Regions from separate parts of the Homo sapiens genome. Here region 1 is linked to region 2. The links are contacts of gene promoters, found by promoter capture Hi-C in human tissues and cell types (Jung and others, 2019). All regions are on one chromosome and are shown on one strand. Each heading gives the region's core, a stretch centred on a gene start or on the middle of the fragment in contact. The rest is flanking DNA. Distances are from core to core; before and after follow the strand shown. Region 1 overlaps ABCC8 (ATP binding cassette subfamily C member 8). Region 2 holds the start of OTOG (otogelin).

The links. The method cuts DNA at HindIII sites, captures the fragments that hold promoters and counts their contacts. A contact is called where the count stands out against the background at its distance.
Region 1: a fragment that was not itself captured here is called in contact with the fragment with the promoter of OTOG in region 2 in 2 of the 25 tissues and cell types used here (IMR-90 fibroblasts and thymus).

Annotation. Positions count from the first base shown.
Region 1 is chr11:17,419,584-17,425,434 of GRCh38, reverse strand. All of the region lies in intron 16 of ABCC8 (ATP binding cassette subfamily C member 8), which reads left to right. Among named protein-coding and RNA genes, the nearest start is that of KCNJ11, 34 kb to the right of the region's middle. The HindIII fragment of the contact is 4,539 bases long and covers 1,841-5,851 here.
Region 2 is chr11:17,545,159-17,550,370 of GRCh38, reverse strand. OTOG (otogelin) reads right to left here and starts at 3,112. Exons shown (of 56, transcript NM_001292063.2): 1 at 2,905-3,112; 2 at 2,384-2,444; 3 at 2,159-2,219. The coding sequence starts at 2,998. The HindIII fragment of the contact is 5,491 bases long and covers 270-5,212 here.

The sequences.
Region 1 (5,851 bases), core at 2,861-5,360, 130 kb after region 2:
TGTCAGGTTTTTCATAAGCATGAGTACAGAACTGAGCAGGGAGAAAGACTTTGGGCCCAATGTCTGAATATCAACATGCACCCCCGTTTCCTGCATTTCCAAGATGTCCCTGAATGGTGTATCCAAAAGATGGCAAATTTCCCTCCTCAGTGGGGTCGTGGGCTAGCAGATGAGCCCCTTGGGTTTCCCATCACCTCCCATCAGGGACTGTGATGTCTTTGGGGGCAGAGGGGTCTTTGCCTCCATTCGCCATTTTATTTGGGAGATTTTTCAACATAGCCTGACTGGGAAGGCCCAGGTATTCGGTTTGAGATCATATTGCCTTATTCCGACTGCCTCTCCAGCCTTTGGAGGGAGGAGCCCTTTTCTGCTGTCCAACTGCATGCCTGCAGCAAGAAGACAAGAGTCCCCAGTGCACTGTGAGCTGAAGAAAGTAACCAATATTTATTGGGTACCTCCTATGGGCCATGCCCTTTGCTAAGTGCATTGTCAACATGATCTCATCAAGCCTCCTACTAAGTTTAGGAGGGGAGTGTTGTTACCCCATTTCACAGAAGCAGAAACTCAGGCTCAGAGAAGTTGGGTGACTTACTAGTCAGTGTGTGGAGCAGAGACTCTGCCCATGTTCTTTCCCTCAAACCTGGTCACTGCTGGGGCCCCCAGGGCCTAGTCCTAAGGGTTATTGTCCAAGCCCCATGTAGTGGTCAGGCTGGATCTGGGCTCTCCTCCAAGGCAGGGCTTTTCCAGAAGGATTGCAGGGCTCAGACACTGGAGCTGCCCCTGCCTTGACCTGCTCAGCATGGATGTCAAAACCCACTCTGAACCTGGTCCCTTTGCCCTGCTTTCTTCTCCTCCCCCACCCTCATGCCCTCATGTGGCATCGTGCCTGCCTCAGGAGCTCTCCTTGTCCTATGTAGATGAAGCAGGCATGATTGGCAGGGGTCTGCTCTGCCCTGCCTCAGTCCCCACCTCTTCTCCAAGCTGTGCCAACCCTCCGGGTCTGACTGCTGCCCCTCTCTCTTAGGAAACCTCTGCCCCAGCCCAGGGAACACAAGGAGCCTCTCCAAGGCAGAGGACCCTAAGCACTTCTTTTTTTTATTATTTTTTATTTTATTTTAGGTTCTGAGATACATGTGCAGAGTGTGCAGGTTTGTTACATAGCTATACATGTGCCATGGTGCTTTGCTGCACCTATCAACCTGTCATCTTTTTAAGCCCCACATGTATTAGGTATTTGTCCTAATGCTCTCCCTCCTCTTGCCTCCCACCCCCCGACAGGCTCGGTATGTGATGTTCCCCTCCCTGTGTCCACGTGTTCTCATTGTTCAACTCCCACTTATAGTGAGCACATGTGGTGGTTGGTTTTCTGTTCCTGCCTAAGCACTTATTATAGGCCAGGCACTGTGCAGGCACCTCATCATCTCAGTCAGTCTGCACCGAACTCTGTGCAGTAGATATTATTATATCCTCATTTATCAGATTAGGAAACTGAGGTGAAGCAAGTTGTCCAAGGCCACCCAGCTGTTAAATGGCAGAAGTGGGATTTGCACCTAGGTGCTCAAGTGCATTGGTTTGCCACCATGTGCTCAAAGAGAAGGGGCACAAGAGCCTCATGAAGAAGGCATAGCTAGCCTGACAGTCCAAAGGCCAGCAGCCGCTGTGGCCATGACTCACACACACCTGCCTCCTCCCAGAACTGCCACGTGGGTCCTCACAGCTCTGTCCTTATCAACACTTACTCTCCTTTACAGGTAGCCTAGGCCCCAGCTCCCAGCTCTGTTCGAGGCTCGCAGAGGGGCGGTAGTGAAGGGGTCTCATTTCTCCAGGATCCTCTTTGCTCTCTCGCCCGGTCCTGGTCCAGCTTCCCTTTCAAGCATAGTGAAGTGCATTTGTTAGCTTGCAGCCAACCCTGGGAAATCATGAGAATTTGTTCCCAAGTCAACTCATTCTCCAGCGTCCACAGTGACGTATTCACTCACCCAGTTGAGCGCCTAGTGTATACTAGACCCTGTGACAGCAACAGGAGTGCAAAGGTGACTAAGACGTGGCCCCTGCTTTTTTTTTTTTTTTTTTTTTTTGAGACGGAGTCTCGCCCTGTTGCCCAGGCTGGAGTGCAGTGGTGCGATCTCAGCTCCTCACAAGCTCTGCCTCCTAGGTTCAAGCGATTCTCCTGCTTCAGCCTCCCAAGTAGCTGGGACTACAGGTGTACACCACCATGCCGGCTAATTTTTTGTATTTTTAGTAGAGACGGGGTTTCACTATGTTGGCCAGGGTAATCTCGAACTCCTGACCTCATGATCCGCCCGCCTCAGCCTCCCAAAGTGCTGGGATTACAGGCATGAGCCACCACCCCTGGCCGGCCCCGCTTTTAAGAGAGGGGAGAGAAGACCTGGGCCTTAGAAGAGCTCAGAGGAACCACAATTGACTCTGCAGTCAAGGAGAGGAGGCTCACTGCGGATGTGGTATTTGAGCCTTGAAGGATGAGTGTGGTTTCATCAAGTAGAAAAGGCAGGGATGGGAAAGGGAGGTGGTCCAGGCAGGGGTGATGGTGTGGGCAAAGCCTTGCTGATATTAAAGAACATAGTTCTGTGCACCTGGAACACTGGATGCATGGGGTGCATTATGAAAGATGGGACTGAAGAAGTGAACTTGGCTTAGATCCCATGTAGTAGGTCTGAGAAGTAAGATTTAACCCAAAGGTTGCAAAAGAACCATGCTTGTGATAAAGGATGATGGATTGGGGAAACAGAGAAAAAGACAGACAGACTGTAGGAAGGGAGGTATTAGCAAATAATCATAACACAGTGTGAGGTGTGCATTAATATTCACTCATTCCAAGTATTGATCAAGAAGAGAGGTAGGTACTGGGTTAGGAAACAGCTTGGGCAAATGCATGGGGAAATGAGAGATGTCAAGATGCATTCTAATGGCAGCCTCTTGAAGATCTTAAGTTGTTTTTGGTTCACTCATTTCGCAAATGAATTCATTTAGCAAAAGCACTATGGATACAGTGCTTACCTCTAGGAAGTAAGTTTTAGCCCAAATGCTGCAGAAGGATCATGCTTATGACAAAGGATGATGGACTGGGGAGAGAGAAAAAGAAAAGACAGACAGACTCCAGGAAGGAAGGTCAGTCTGCAGCTCCTTATAGTGGCTAGGAGAAGGAGTCTAGGCAGATACGACTCAATTAGCTTCATCTGCTGTTTGTCTCTCAAAATCTAGACATGTGCACTGCTCTGGCTGGCCCACCTATCCTGGGCATTGAGTTAAGTGTGGGGGCTGTGTGTTGAGAGTCCCCCTCCATTACTGGCAGGAACTCCACACCTCAGACATTGAGCCCCAGGTCTGCAGGGAGAAGACGTGCTTGCAAAGTGAGCTAAAAGCAAAACAGCCTCTGACCTGGCAAGCATTCCCAAGTCTGCACGCCTGCAGCCAGAGGAGAGGGTGATGCCAGGCTGCTGCTCAGATGCTTTTCAGCCATACCCAGGCCAAGACCTGGTGACCAGGCAGCCAGAAGGAGTTCCAGGAGGCACAAGGCAGGAAGTTGGGGGATTAGGAGGTGTAGAATGGAGAATGCTCTGGGGAGATGGGTGCTTTGTTGGTGCAACTATTCGTTTATTCCTCCAGTGACCACGTGAGCAGTATGGCTGCACACACAGGCTCTGCAGCCAAGCTGCCTGGGTTCACATTTGGTCTCTGTGCTTTGGAAAATTTCATAAGCTTTCTCTACCAGTTTCCCTTATTACCCATGAGATTGATGTGAGGATTAACCTAGCATGTAGTAAATATCCTATAAATATTATTATTCAATAGTGTACTTCTTTGCCAGGAACAAAATTCACCTGTTCCTCTTTAAATGTCCTCCAGTCTGTCTCCTGGGAAAGATTCTTGTGAGCTCCCTGGGGACAGGGACCATATTTTGTTTGTCTCACTGTATCCGTAGTGCTTTTTGCTAAACGAATTCACTTGCTAAATGAATGAACCAGGAACAACTTAAGACCTTCAAGAGGCTGCCATTATAATGCATCTTGACATCTCTCTCCTTTCCACATGCCTTTGTCCGAGCTGTTTCCTAACCCAGTATTTCACTACCCCTCTTCTCCATCAATATTTGGAATGAGCAAATACCGTTAGTGCATACCTCACATGGTATTATAATTATTTGCTAATGCGTCTGTCTCCTCCATGACTCTGAGCTCCTTGAGGGATTATTCCATGTTGTACCCCAGGTGCCCCATGCAGATGTGTATTTTGTGCACTGTTCTGTGTAGGCTACAAAGGAAAAGGCCTAGCACCTGCCCTTGGGGAGCTCACCCACCCAGGATGGACAGAGGTGTGCAGACAGAGCTGCAGGGTGGGCACAAAGGGTCCATCTGCTGAAGTCCTGCAGATGCAGCCCCGAGCTTGTCCCTCACGTCAGCAGCCTGGCTCCTGGTCTCAGAGAGAACTGTGTGGTTCCCAAGCATTCACTTTAGGAAGAATCACTTGCCCCTCCCTGGCTCTCTGCTTCAAGGAACTGTGACAACCTTGGGATTTGCAAACTCTCTCTTTAATCCTTAAGAGGAAAATGTTTTGGTAAAAAGTCAAGATTAGCAGATACACTCGGGTGAAATTCTTTCCCTGGAAATAAAGAATAGAGCCATTAATATCCACAGTAGAGTGACTTTAAATGCCCCCGGGGGGTCAGCAGGAACCAGGGCCCTGAGGAAAGGATCAGCGTGGGGAAGAGGCTCCCACTTCCCTGTGAGGAGCTGCACATGCAGTCTCACTGGAGCTCCCTGCTGCAATGCTGTTGCCTGTGGTGGTTGGTGTGGATGCTGCCTGCCAAGAGCCCTGATTCCCCAGGAAGAGAGAAAAAGGCTTCTCTCAGGACGGCCCTGGTCGCATCTGCCTGTACAATTCCTGGAGCCTTTGGGGAGCTGAAGTCAGGGGCTCAAGTGCCCCTGGGTTTCCTGGAGGAGGCAGGTGTGGTGAGACAGCTGACAGACAGGAGAAGGGATGCTCTGAGGAAGTGACTGTCCAGCCATGGGAACCAGATGGCCCCTGGCTGTAGTCCTGATGCTGCCACTTGCTAGCTCTGTGACCTTGAGCAGGTTACTTCACCTCTCTGAGACAGACTCACTGTCTGGACAATGAGTAAAACCCTACCTTTCCTGTCTCAGAGATTTGGCAATGGGACCCAATGACATCAATTGGAAAGGATGCTGTGGGTGAAAGGTAACCTTTCAGGACAGCGACAAGCCTGTCTGGGCAGGATGAATGGGCTGTGGAGCCCTGTATATCCTAGCTCACTCTTTGAACCTCAGTTTCCACTTCTTCCCTTTTTATTTATTGCCGGGGTCTTAAATGAGTGTTGGGGGTATCTGATTCTCCCTCTGCCTGTACTTTTGGGGCCAAGCACTGAGCTGAAAAGACAATTCCTCCTAGTTCTCCAAGCCTACAACCTGCCCCCTAACCAGCTGTGAGCTGTAATACATTCTCCAGTGTCACTGTGAGGTTTGTGCCTTCACCCCCATTTTATAGATCAGGAAACAGAGGCTCCTCCAAGTAAAGGAGCTTGCCTCAGATTTCACAGCCAATGAGTGGAAAAGCCTCTGGGATTCAAATGTCAGAGCCCATATTTTTCCTACTTCTCGCACCTGTTATCATATGCTGCCTCTTCCTTTAACCTGCAGTTCCCTCCCTTCACCTCCACCGTCTCAATCCTTCCCACTCTTTAAGGTTCAGTTCAGCTATGACTTCTTCTATGAGGCTCTACTCATTTTCTCAGATTTCTTCCTCCTCCAAATTTCTTGTAAAAATTATGTTTTTTCTCTGATTCTAAAAGAATGCACATTACATTAGAAAAGAT
Region 2 (5,212 bases), core at 1,863-4,362:
AGGAAATCACTTATATCACAATATCATTTTATGAAAATATTTTATAAAAATGTGTAATTTAGTAATATTTGTGCTTCTTTAATAACTCAATAAATAAAAGATCTAGCAGTGGGCCTTATCACTGCCAAAATTTTGAAGTAGTGATGAACATAAATGATATCTTGAGACAGCAACATCTATAAGTGGTAGGAAAATATCTGTCATGTCTATTGGTGACAGTCAAAAACACTGCAAATACTCTTGTGGTTTGTAGACTATAATAATAATTGAAAAGGATGCTGAATTTCAGTTGGATTGAGGTTTCTGTAAATAACAATGTGTTTTTATTTTCCCCCATCCATGGACCCCTGTCTACAACAATTCTCTAGAAAATGGTTGAGCTCTGTAGAAGCGGGACAGCATTGAAATGAAGATTGGTTGCCTACTGGTCTGGGGCACACCCCCACTTCATGAAGAGGGCATTCCAAACAGGAGCCCTTGAAGTATCCCTGGTACATGAGCCTCAGTCCCCCACCCCCCAACTCCTGTCACCTTAGAGGGAGGCCATTCTAATTCCTCGTTGCTCTGAGGAGCAGCGTGAGAAACCTCCCCAGGTTGCCTGGTCCACTCACTTATGACCCTTCCCCAAGGAAAAGGCGGGATGCCTACCCTGGAAACCAGCACGGGAGGATACCCACAGGGAAATGAAGTGTTTGGAGAAGGGTCATCTCCCCCACTAAAACATGGGGATTCCTGAAGTCCTGTATGCACGGCCTGGCTCTGCCAGTAGACTTTGCTCCACCTGCTCATTGCAGGGCCCCCACAAGTCATCCACCCACCTCAATTTCCCTACCTACAAAAAAATGACTCCAATACCTTCCAACTCAAGCAGTATTTGACTGTGATTCTAAATCTTAGGGCCTGGAAGTGTGGGCAAAGAAGAAGTAAAAGATCCAGGAAATCCACATCAGAGAAGAAGCACGCCCACACCATCCCCCCTCACTCCACCTTGGGGTCTTCATGTCTATTTCCAAAGGGCAGGAGTTGGGACTCATTGCTGTCATAAACGATTCTCCCCAATCTGCTGGCTCAAGGGGCTCCCCAGAGCTGACCGCTGGGGCTGGGGCAGGGGCACTTGAGCTGAGGCTCAGCTGCTTTGGGGGACCTAGCTGCAGGTGGGTGGAACTTATAGCTCATCTGTAGTTATAGAAAGAGGGAGACAAATGCGGGCCAGGATTAGAAAGTAGACCTGAGTCACCTGATCCAGAGACCAAAGAAGTTTGGCAAAGGGAGAAAACAAAACTGCCACCTCTCCCACAAACACAGAGGACCGTGGGAAGATGGGCAGTGGAATGGTCAAGACTCAAAGGATAGAGGCCGGGCTCAGTGGCTCATGCCTAATCCCAGCACTTTGGGAGGCTGACACAGAAGGATCACTTGAGGCCAGGAGTTCAAGACCAGCCTGGGCAACATAGTGAGACTCTGTCTCTACCAAAAAAATTGAAATTCAACCAGGCATGGTGGCACACACCTATAGTCCTAGCTACTCAGGTAACGGAGGCACCAGGATCACTTGAGCCCAGGAAGTTGAGGCTGCAGTGAACTATGATTATGCGACTGCACTCCAGCCTGTGTCACAGAGCAAGACCCCGACTCAAAAAAAGAAAAAAAAAGGCTCAAAGGATGAGTTCAGGGCTCTGCTTCTCAACCAAACCTTCCTTGCAACTTCCACCAGGTGGCCTAGTTTTTGTCTTGCCTGCATTCTTGAGGCTCCGCTCAGGGTATGGAGAGGAGCCTCTGACAGGGTTGAGGGCCTTCGCAGGCCAGTCAGGGAAAAGAGAACTCCATTCTTCTAAACGTCCATCTTTCTACTTTTACCTGCCAGAAGGGAGAGCTCAGCTCTCTCCTGAAAGAGCCCTGGTGCCCACCTCTCCTAAAAAAAAAAAAAAAAAAAAAAAAAAAAAAAAAAAAAAGAGTGGACTATAGACCCCCAAGAGATTAAAAAGAATAGAAGGGTTTTATGAACTTGCACACCTCAGACACATACCAGGAATCTGCTTGTTCCTTTCTGAACAACTCCAGAGACCCCTCCTGTAACCTACAGAGCTCCCTGCCAGCCTCAGATCCAGATAGACATGAGCTCCTGCTCAATGAAGCCCCCTCCCAAGACCTCCCTTACCTGGCCTCCCACGACTGTAGCCTTGTCCCCCATGGCAAGGGTCGCCTCCTGGTGGCTGCTGCTGGAGGAAACACGAGTCTGGCATGGATGGGGGGCTAGGATGGGTTATGCCTCCCCGCAGTCCCCTGGCCTATCCCACCCTAAGTGCTAAAGCCCTGGGGTCGCTGATGCCAGAAATACGGATGGGAGCTGTGGGTGGGGCCGCCACAGCTCACACCTACTCACCTGGGTTGCCCGGCTGGCTCTGGCTGTGGCTCTGCACTGCCCCACAGAACGGGTGCTGCGGCTGGGGAGGGGGATTATTCTCCACTCAAATTGTGCTTGTCTTTACTGGGGCCTCCCACCACCTGGCCCCCACTGCTAGAAAGCCTCTCCCACGCCACTGAGCATTCCCCCATTCTCCCTCCCTGCAGCCTTCTCAAATCCTTTCTCTCCCTTCCTGATGACCCTTCTCCAGCCAGGATCTCCCTGTTTACTCTCAGTCTTTGGCCCCCAGCTCTCTCTAGTTCCCCACCTCGGGTCTCTTCCACCCAGCCTAACTTTGGACTCTTTCCCCCGCGGTCATAGGCCTGCCTCTGTTGGCTTCGGGGTCCCTCCTCCCCTGACTGCTCCTCCTGGGTGTCCCTCTGCTCTCCCTCAAACCTCTCTTTCCTCCCTCTCTCCAACCTGCGCGGGCCCATTCCTCATTCCTTTAACGTTTCTCATTCCTCGAGCCCCCGACCTCCCTGAGTCCACAACCCTCTCACCGAGGCGCTGCACCCGCAGGGACTCGGCTGCCTGCTCACCCCAGGGCAGCCAGACACAAAGCAGCCAGCAGAGCGCAGACGCCAGGACTCCCATAGGGACACGAGGGGACCGGAGGACTTGAGCGCAGGGCCAGCCTCCCGAGGTGCCTCCCCGGGCTAAGGCAGGGTCACACCTCCACTCCGCAGCCGAGGTCCCTCTTGTTCTCATGCCCCAGGGCTCCCTCAGCCCCTCCTCCCAGGCTCTCAGCTCCTCCCCGAACTAGAGTGACAGGAGTACCCAGCTTATTACCATAATTTAGGCGCCTGTCCATAGCCTAGCCTCTGCTTTTCTTGGCCTGTGGCCACACCTCCCCAGGGGAGGCTGGATTCAGATTACTCAGCCCTAAATTGTCTAGGGAAGCATAGAGGCAGCCTATGCAACCTCCAGCTCCCCTTACCTGGGTCCTGGAAGCCCAATACCAGAGACGCAAGATGCAGGTATGAGTCTGGCCCTATCCTCTCCTTTTACAGAGGGCCATGCTGAGGCCCTGGGACATGCCACTCAGGGATCAGTGGTCAATAACAGAGCCTGCAGAGTCCTAGCCTATGTTCTCACCATGCCCCACCTCAGCTTCCACCTGGGTCTCCACATCCGTATCCTATGACCAGTTTTGAGCACCTCTAGGGAATGGATCATGCCTTAGTCCTCTGAATGCCCAGCACCAGCTCCTGCCCGAGCTCAGGAAATGACGATTGAATAATAAAAGTGTTTCATACTCCTATGTTATTGCCACCATCAAGGCCAAACTTTGACAAAACAACTTTATATGTGTGAACGAGGTCCACTGTCTGCCCAGGAGGAATTTTAAAATGGCAAAAACATGGGACTGAGCACCTGGGGAATCTGTACATCATTCACTTCGTCATCACTTAGGGAACACCAACTAGATGCTAGGTCTTACAGAGGATGATGATGATGGTGGTGGTGGTGGTCGTGGTGGTATTGGCCCCAGTAGACTTCTAGGCAAGGGTATAGATTTGAGATGCATTCATTCATTCATTCATTCATTCATTCACTCAACAAATTTGTTTGGCATTGATTCCATGCCATGCACTGTTCTAGGCATATAGTGGTAAATAAAGCAAACACAGCTATCTTCACACAGGAGGAAGCTGGGGGCACAGATAGGAAGATGAAGAGGAAAGAGCTAAGGATGGAGCCTTAAGGAATGCTGGTTAAGGAACAGGCAAAGACTGATTGTCTCCAAGGAAGCTTGAAACAAAAATTCATGAGAGAGGAGAACCAGGTCTCAATGCTATTCTCAAAACAAAGCAGGGGGCATTTTAAGGTGGAGGGAGTCTGTGGGGGTAATGGCCAATGTAAAATAAGGATTGGTGTGGCAGGTGAACAGCATTCCCCTGGATAAGGACATTCATTCACCTCTGCCAGGATTCTAAATACAAAATAAACAGCCATATGACATTCTTTTCCAATGTAGAGAATCAATGAAGTAAGTCGGAGGGGAATGCATTTTGTGTGGCCTTTTCTGGACCATTCAAAAATCCCACAAGTCTTTCCATTTTATCGCTGACTTAATAGTTAATGCTAAGGTGAGAAAACAGATCATATTTTAAGGTTCTTCTCCAAGAGGGATTTACATCTTAAACTAGGCAACAAAAATAGTGTGCTTGTAAAACTTCAGCTATTGGGGAGAGGGACGCAGAGGGGTGTTTAGGTGCCCCAGAGTTACAATTGTAAGTGGTTACCTGATGTAAGCTGCTGTCCATCTCCTTGCCCCTGCCCTTGACAGGGCACAAAGGGCTCAGGTGCCTCCCTGGGTTAAGTTCAGGCACAAGCCCCATACTTAGCCTCTGATTTACACATTTTTATCACCCCTCTCCTAGCCCCTCTTTCCTTTCATCTCTTTCCAGGCCTGGTTCATCATTGTCTTTGATGAATCTTTCCTTTCATTCCTTTCCAGGCCTGGTTCATCATTGTCTTTGCACCAAGCACTAGACCTAGGAGTTAAGCAAATGCTGACCAAATTGAATTAAATGAACCAGAGGGTCTGGGCCCTGGGTGAAGGTCAGCCATAGATCAAAATGTCACTGCCAGGCTCTGCCAGGCTTCGATGGATATGTGAGTGTGTTGGGTTTGGGTTTTGTTTTGTCTTGTTTTGTTGGGGGTGGAGGTGTTAGGGAAGGTGGGAGGGGAAATCAGTTGAGGGGGGCACTCTCACACACACTGATTCAGACCCCTGCGGCCCACAGTAAAACCCAGCCCTGTCCCCAAGGAATTCACAGAACAAGGATTGATTTCTCCCTGGTG